Regions from separate parts of the Homo sapiens genome. Here regions 2 and 3 are each linked to region 1. Evidence: promoter capture Hi-C in human tissues and cell types (Jung and others, 2019). All regions are on one chromosome and are shown on one strand. Each heading gives the region's core, a stretch centred on a gene start or on the middle of the fragment in contact. The rest is flanking DNA. Distances are from core to core; before and after follow the strand shown.

What was found. Contacts are between HindIII fragments. The study calls those that stand out against the background at their distance.
Region 2: a fragment that was not itself captured here is called in contact with the fragment with the promoter of CASQ1 in region 1 in 1 of the 25 tissues and cell types used here (bladder).
Region 3: a contact is called between a fragment that was not itself captured here and the fragment with the promoter of CASQ1 in region 1, in 1 of the 25 tissues and cell types used here (small bowel).

What each region holds. Positions count from the first base shown.
Region 1 is chr1:160,189,288-160,191,987 of GRCh38, forward strand. It overlaps CASQ1 (calsequestrin 1), which reads left to right and starts at 1,288. Exons shown (of 11, transcript NM_001231.5): 1 at 1,288-1,743. The coding sequence starts at 1,465. The HindIII fragment of the contact is 26,832 bases long and covers 1-2,700 here.
Region 2 is chr1:160,318,965-160,321,664 of GRCh38, forward strand. The region is part of intron 8 of COPA (coat protein complex I subunit alpha); the gene reads right to left. Among named protein-coding and RNA genes, the nearest start is that of COPA, 23 kb to the right of the region's middle. The HindIII fragment of the contact is 4,225 bases long and covers 1-2,700 here.
Region 3 is chr1:160,044,579-160,047,278 of GRCh38, forward strand. The region is part of intron 1 of KCNJ10 (potassium inwardly rectifying channel subfamily J member 10); the gene reads right to left. Among named protein-coding and RNA genes, the nearest start is that of PIGM, 14 kb to the left of the region's middle. RefSeq lists an enhancer at 1,081-1,375. The HindIII fragment of the contact is 8,881 bases long and covers 1-2,700 here.

The DNA.
Region 1 (2,700 bases), core at 38-2,537:
ATGGTCTCCCTCATGCCTCAGTTTACCTGTGCATAGTAAGAACCCTGGAGGGCCATGAAGAGGATCCTTCCTTCCTACGTATCCAGAGTTAAACTCACTACTCTGTCCTCACCCCCCAAGCTGGATCCAGAAGTTTAAGCCCCTACCCGCCCATCTCTGCTTTGGATCTCGGGTGCACAGAATTAATCATCAGTCTTGGTTCAGGGCACAGGGTTCACCTCTTCATGCTTGCCTAATGTTAATTTTTTTTTGCCCTGGTGTCAATACCTGATCCTCTTTGTCTTGTCAAAGACATGGGAATAAATAGTAGCTATTCACTCTCCTTGGAAGCATGCAGCCTGGGAAAACCTCCCTTCCCACTGTGCCCCAGAAAACCGAGTCCCATAGGATCAGGGTAGGGAGTGCACACACAGGTGGCAACCAAAGGACAGACCCCTTCTCATTGTGGGCTTTATAGGCAGAGAAACCCCAAACCCACATCTCTACAGGACAGGATCTGGGCCAGCCCTGTCCTTCCCTGCATTCCCAAGTTAGGAGTGCTGAGTGAAGCAAAGGAAACTGGCTGGAGCTGAGCCAGGTTGCCAGTCTTGGACGCGGCTCCATCTTTTATTCAGAGAATGACCTCATCCTTGGTCCTGGTTCTTTAAAAGAAAGTGGAGGGGGTCTCTTTCCTGCAGCCTGGCTTGCACTTTTATCGCCCCACTCTCCTACATAGTATCAAAGAATCAGAATCAGACTTCACCTACAGAAGATTCCCAGGCTTTAGGACATAGAGCCAATACCACATTTGTCCCCCTTTTGTCCTATATTATCAATTTAGCCTCTGACCCAGTTAGCTCCTCCTCTCCACTGCATTTAACTTCTAATTACCCTTGCCCCACCCTCGGCCCACCCTAATTACCCTTATACCTCCCCTCCCCCAGCCCCAGCTTCATTTACCTCCGACTCATCTGGTCTTATTTTTAGCTCCGGCATCTCTCCTTTTCCTTTCTTAATATGGCGATGAGCTCTTAGGCCAGTGTGGGGACCGGGGCTGAGGTGCCCTGGACACTGGAGGAGGGGGAGGGAAGGAGCCCCTGGGAGCCTGGGGTAGAAGTGTAGGAGGTGGGAGGATTCCGGCCCGCATGGAGCTGTCCTGGCCTCAGAAGGTTATCCGTCTCTCCTGCCAACCATGGAGACATATTTAGACAGGACCAGGTGGGGACTGAGGGGTGCCAATTTCAGGGGGCAGCTCCGGTTCCCTCCCCGCCCCCTGCTCCTATTCCTCCACCTGACCCTTTTTCCCTTGGCTCTGTCGGCAGTTTCTCCAGGACCCAGCAGTGCCCTCTGTCCACTGCTCTGGGCCATTCCCCAATCCCCCCTCCCACTTGAGCCCCTAACTCAGAATCTGGGACCCAGGGGCCCCTCCCTACCCCAGCTAACCTCTTCTGGACCAGGAGAGCCAACCCAGATCCCACTACCTCCATGAGTGCTACAGACAGGATGGGGCCCAGAGCTGTGCCGGGTCTGCGGCTGGCACTGCTGTTGCTGCTGGTGCTAGGGACACCCAAGTCAGGGGTACAGGGGCAGGAAGGGCTGGACTTCCCTGAGTACGATGGTGTGGACCGTGTGATCAATGTCAATGCAAAGAACTACAAGAATGTGTTCAAGAAGTATGAGGTGCTGGCACTCCTCTACCATGAACCCCCCGAGGATGACAAGGCCTCACAAAGACAATTTGAGATGGAGGAGCTGATCCTGGAGGTGAGTTGGGGGCACTGCAGGCCTGCAGAGCATGTCTAGCCCCTCTCCGGAATCCCCTATCCTACACCCATGTAGCTCTTTGAGGATGGGATCTGGGGGTGAGGGGCAGTGTGGTAGGAACCCTGTCCTGACCAACAGGATGCAAGTGGCATGTGGCTTTAGTCAAATGAGAAACAGAGTCTCAGGAACCCAAAAGTACTATCAGCGTCAGGAAACCTTTAGCAGGGGTGCTGCAGGAAGAGCTCCCCTCCCTGCTATAGGAGGCTGGTAGTATTTGACTTAGGTTTGGCTAGGACACTGAGGGTGAAAAAGGGAGGTACTTGGAGGGCCAGGGGAGAACAGCAGTGTATATTGCACTCCCCTACCCCACCCATCTGCTTAGCCAGAACACGTCCTCTCCACATACTTCAGGGGCTGCACCCCAAAGAGATCCAAACTGAGTGTAAATGTAAATGTTATGATACTTGCATGCCATGTTTAAATATCTCCTAGAGATCATGCCTCCCATTGGACTCCCAGTCCCCTCTCTCTTCCTTCCCCCTCCCTAATTCCCCATTTGTCTCCATTGGATAAGCTGGATGCCCTCACTGGAAAATTCTTATGGTTGCAGGAGGTGTCAGAATGTCTTCCCCAATCTTCTTTTTGTGGGAAAAGTCTCCTCACCTCCAAAATGACTTCAGGCCCAAAGGAGAAAGAAGTTATCATAAGAAAAGAAAAAAAACCTATGTTTGGGAATGTGTTCATACACACACACCTTTAGGAAATGGGATGTGAGTTTTCTTGTCCAAGCTCCTGTGGCCCCTTCTCTGGCCTCAGCTTGTCCAGAGCTTGGAGCATTTCAGGGTGAGACACCAGAACCACAGGCTCTCATTTTGTGCACCCCTGCTGGGTGCTAGAACCTGCCATCTGATTAATGAGCCGAGTATTTTTATCCTGAGTGCTCAGTATCCCTGGCCA
Region 2 (2,700 bases), core at 126-2,625, 130 kb after region 1:
AGAGAAGCCTCAAAAAAAAACAAAACAAAACCAGAAAACAAGCAAAAAACAGCAGTAATAAGTCCTTGCTTATCAATAATATCACTGAATGTAAATGCTCTCAATTCTTCAATTAAAAGGCATAGAGTGGCTAAACGGATAAAGAGAGAAGACCTAACTATATGCTGCCCTCAAGAAACCCATTTACCTATACAGACACACATAGACTGAAAACGAAGGAGTGGGAGATATTCCATGAAACTGGAAACCAGAAAAGAGCAGGCGTAGCTATACTTACATGAGATAAAACAGACTACCAAACCTAAGATTGTAAAAAGAGACAAAGAAGGTCACTATATAATGATAAAGGGGTCAATTCAGCAAGAGGAAATAACAATTATAAGTATCTGTGCACCCAACACCAAAGCTCCCAAGTATATAAAGCAAACACTAATAGATCCAAAAGGAGAGGTAGACTACAATATGATAATAGTAGGAGAGCTAATACCCCACTCTCAAAAACAGACAGATCATCCATACAGTAAATCAACAAAGAAACAGTGGAGTTAAACTACATACTAGATCTAATAGGCCTAACTGCAATTTACAGAACATTTCACCCAACGGCTACAGAATATTCTTTTCATCAGCACATGGAACACTCTCCAGAATAAACTATACTTTAGGCCACAAAACAAGCTTGAAAAAATTGTAAAAAATAGAAATTATATTAAGTATCTTTTCTGAACACAATAGAACTAGAAATCAATAACAAGAGGAACCTCAGAAAATACAAACACATGTAAGTTAAACAACATGTTCCTGAAAGACTAATGGATCAATGAAGAAATTAAGAAGGAAATTTAAAAATTGCTTGAAACGAATGAAAATGGCAATACAATGTAACAAAATTTATGGGATATGACAAAAGCAGTACTAAGAATGAAGTTTATAACATAAACACCTATGTCAAAAAAAAAAAAAAAAAAAGGAAAGACTCCAAATGAACAATCTAATGATACACCTCAAGGACCTAGATAATAAAAAACAAGCCAAACCCTAAATTAGTAGAAGAAAACAAACAATAAAGATCAGAGCAGAAATAAAATTGAGACTAAAAAAAATACAGACTATCAATGAAACGAAACACTTGCTTTTTGAAAAGATAGTATCAACAAACTGTTAGCTAGACCAACTAAGGAAAAAGGAGAGAAGATCCAAATAAATAAAATCAGAAATGAGAAAGGAAACATAACAACTGAGACCTCAGAAATACAAAGAATCATTAGAAACTATTACGAGAATGACATGCCAACATACTAGAAAACTTACAAGAAATGGATATATTCCTAGACACATACAACCTACAAAGATTGAACCACGAGGCCAGGGATGGTGGCCCACGTCTGTAATCCCAGCACTTTGGGAGGTGGAGACAGGTGGATCACTTGAGGTCAGGAGTTCAAGACCAGCCTGGACAACATGGCAAAACCCTGTCTCTACTAAAAACATAAAAATTAGCTGGGTATGGTGGCACAGCCTGTAGTCCCAGCTACTTGGGAGGCTGAGGCAGGAGAATTGTTTGAACCCAGGAGGTGGAGGCTGCAGTGAGCTAAGATTGCCCTGCTGCACTCCAGCCTAGGCAACACAGCGAGACTCCAACTCAAAAAAAAAAAAAAAAAAAAAAAAGATTGAACCACGATAAAATAGAAAAACTTCTAAAAACCAGTGCCTAGATCAAAGCCTTAATAAAAATTCTCCCATCAAAGAAAAGCCCAGGACCTGACTGCTTTACTGCTGAATTCTACCAAACATTTAAAGAATTAATGCCAATCCTATTCAAACTCTTAAAAAAAAAAAAAAAAAAAAAAAAGGAAGAGGAGGGAATATTTTCAAACTCATTCTATGAGGCCAGCATTACTCTGATAACAAAACCAGGCAAGGACACCACAAAAAGAGAAAACTACAGGCCGATATCACTGATGAACATAGATGCAAAAATCCTCAACAAAATATTAGCAAACCAAATTCAATAGTATACTGATAAGATCATTTACTAAGATCAAGTGGGATTCATTTCAGGGATGCAAGAATGGTTCAATATACATCAATAAACATGATATATCACATTAACAAAATCAAAAATAAAAACCATATGATAGTTAAGCAGATGCTGAAAAAACATTGGATAAAATTCAACATCCCTTTATAACAAAAGTTATTATCAACATGGGTAGAGAAAGAGCATACCTCAAAACAATAAAGGCCATATATGATAAACTTACAACTAATATTACACTTAATGGGAAAAAATTGAAGGCCTTTTCTCTACGGACCAGAAGGCAAGGATGCCCACTTTTACCACTTTTATTCGACAAAACACTAGAAGTCCTGGCCAGGTCAAGTAGGTATGAGAAACAAATAAAGGACAAACAAATTGGAAAAATTACCCTTGTTCACAGATGACATTATCATATACTTAGAAAAACCTAAGACTCAACCAAAATGATAAATTCAGTCCAGCTGCGGGATACAAAATCAACATACAAAAATCAGTAGCATGACCAGGTGCAGTGGCTCATGCCTATAAACCCAGCACTTTGGGAGGCCAAGGTGGGCAGATCACTTGAGGTCAAGAGTTCGAGACCAGCTTGGCCAACATGGTGAAACCTCGTCTCTAAAAAAAGTACAAAAATTAGCCAGGTGTGGTGGTGTGCACCT
Region 3 (2,700 bases), core at 201-2,700, 140 kb before region 1:
ACAAACTACAAACAGGTAAGATATTGATCCTAGGCAAGATTCTAGAATGGAATATTAAGATTACGAGTACTTAGGTAGGATGGGGGAAAGGAAGTTATCAATAGGACCCAGTGTGGATTTACTAAGAACAAGTCACATCAAAATGGCCTAATTTTGGCTGAGTGTGGTGGCTCATACCTGTATCCCAGCACTTTGGGAGGCTGAGGCAGGAGGATCACTTGAGATCAGAAGTTCAAAACCATCCTGGGAAACAGCAAGACACCATATCAGCAAAAATTTTTAAAAATTAGCTGGATATGGTAGCACACACCTGTACTCCCAGCTACTTGGAGGCTGAGGCAGGAGGATCACTTGAGCTCAGGAGTTGGAGGCTGCAGAGAGCTATAATCATGCCACTGCACTGCAGCCTGGGCAACAGAATGAGACCCTGTCTCAAAAACAATAATAACCTAATTTTCTTTTATGATAAGGCTACTAAATTGACAAATCGAAGAAGTGCAACAGAGAACGTGTACCTAAACTTCAGGAGATTTTTGACAAGATCTCTCATTATGACCTGGGGATAAGATAAAGAAAAATGAAGAGAATGCTAATCTAATTCGGTGACTTTAAAAATCAGTGGTACTGGTGAGGGGACCATGATAGCCTGGAATTCATTTTCTATTGATACACCAGAGAGCTTCATCTTTGGCCTTGCCCTATTCAATTTTCTTAACATGAACTTCATTCAAAACTATAGAATGCTATGGCCATCAATTGTGTGCCTGACAGAAAGCTGGGACAGATAGCAAATGCAAGAGCTGGGGCAGAATTAGGATCCAAAAGGAGTCAAATAAGTAGGCCAAGTCTAACAAAAATGTTAAGTGCTGGATTATGTACTTGGGTCCAAAAATTACCTGAGCAAGTTCTGGATTGAGAAGATGTGATTTAGCAAAGCAGTACAATATAAAAAAATTAAACATATTAGCAGAAAATAATCCAATATGAGTTATTCATGTGTTTTGATTGCCAAAAAAGCAAACTAATCTTAAGCTCCTTCAGTTGAACTGAAGTCCCTAGAACAAAAAAGTAGTTGATTCTACTCTGCTCTGTTCATCCCACACCTGCAGTATCCAGCATCAAGGAACACTCAGGATATGAGAGGATTCAGAACCAGACCACATGAGAAATGATTGAAGGAAATAGGGAAGTTGATTCAGGAGAAGAGACAATCAGAAAGATATAATGAATGTGTGCAAATATTTGGTTTGAAGGACTATCACGTGATCAAAGGCTTGGACTTGTCCTTTGAGCTCCAAGAGGAACAATCAGGGAGTTCATACTGCAGGGATAAAGATTGCAAGTTGATATTATAAAGAGCATTGTAACAATCAGGAAGGCACTTTGGACAAGCACTTTGCAGAGATCCTATGGCGGAGATAAAAGCTTTGGATGGGAGATTGAAAGACTGTCTTGAAGATTCTGTCTATACCCATGGTGGGTGAGGATGTCTGCCTTCTCCACCCCACTTCTACCCCTGCACTTTCTATGGTGACATTCAGGGATCCTTTACTGAAGTCCTAGCTTTGTTTATGTTGAGGGGAGATTCTACATATCTTGGAGAATGGAAGCTCTTAGGGCCCAAGAAAAGCCTTGCTTATCATTCCCAAAATATTAGTCTATAATTCCTTCTCACTTTAAAATTTATAAAATATATAGTTTGATCCTCACACCATGAGGTAGGTAAGAAAGACACCATAGAAGCTAAGGCTCAGAGAGCTTTGCCCCAAGTAGATTAGTGGTAAAGTTGGAACCAGAATCCAGGTCTCCCAGCTCCTGGTCCAGAACTTTTTAATTGTAGCAACTGCTTTTGTGTGCCCCAGGTTCATTCTCTTGGACCTCATGCTCTCAGCAGGTGCCACTATGGTACGCTGTATGTAAGACCACACATCCCAGGGTTAAGGCTCTAGACTCAAGGGTACTGGAGATTTCGGCCACTGCTAGCCTCTTTGTTGCCTCTGGCTGTTGTGATTGCCACCTCCAGCTGTAGTGCCTGTGGTTGCCAGCCTTTGTATCTGCCACCTCCAGCTGTTATCTGCTGCTCCCAGCTGTTGTGCCACCTCCCACAGCCAGGCAGCTTTGTTCTCTGCGGTGGCCAGAGTCAGAAGCGGATAAACAATCAGCTACACTCCACCCCAAAGCTGGCCAGGCCCCTGGGGAAGGAATCGAGCCAAAGCTCTGGAAATCATCTGTTGCGCACCCCACCACCCCGGGGCACCCCCGCAAAATAAAACATACTCTTTCCTCTAGAGGGTGCTATTTCCCCAAAACAGTCCCAGCCGGCCAAATACCAGAGACAGAATTCTGAAGACCAGCCTGAGTGGCGAAAGAGACAGAAACAGAGATATTCACCTTCTTTCTCCTCTAAGACTGAACTAGTGATCCTTTCCCTAAAACAAAGCCAGTCATAGCTACAGTGATGATCAGCACGTTCCCTCAGCAAGTACCACTCCCACTTACTGCTACCCCCGGAAGTTCTTCCTGAAGCTGTCTTTTTTTGCCTGTGCACTCATTTATTTTACTTGAGAGTCATTTGTTCTACTTGAGAGTCATTTATTCTCCAGGATAATACATGGATTTATCAGGGCCTTTCTTGAGTAAGGACACTGTTGTTCTTGTGACTCTCAATAACTTGATCTGTGGCTCCCCTTTGCTTTTTGC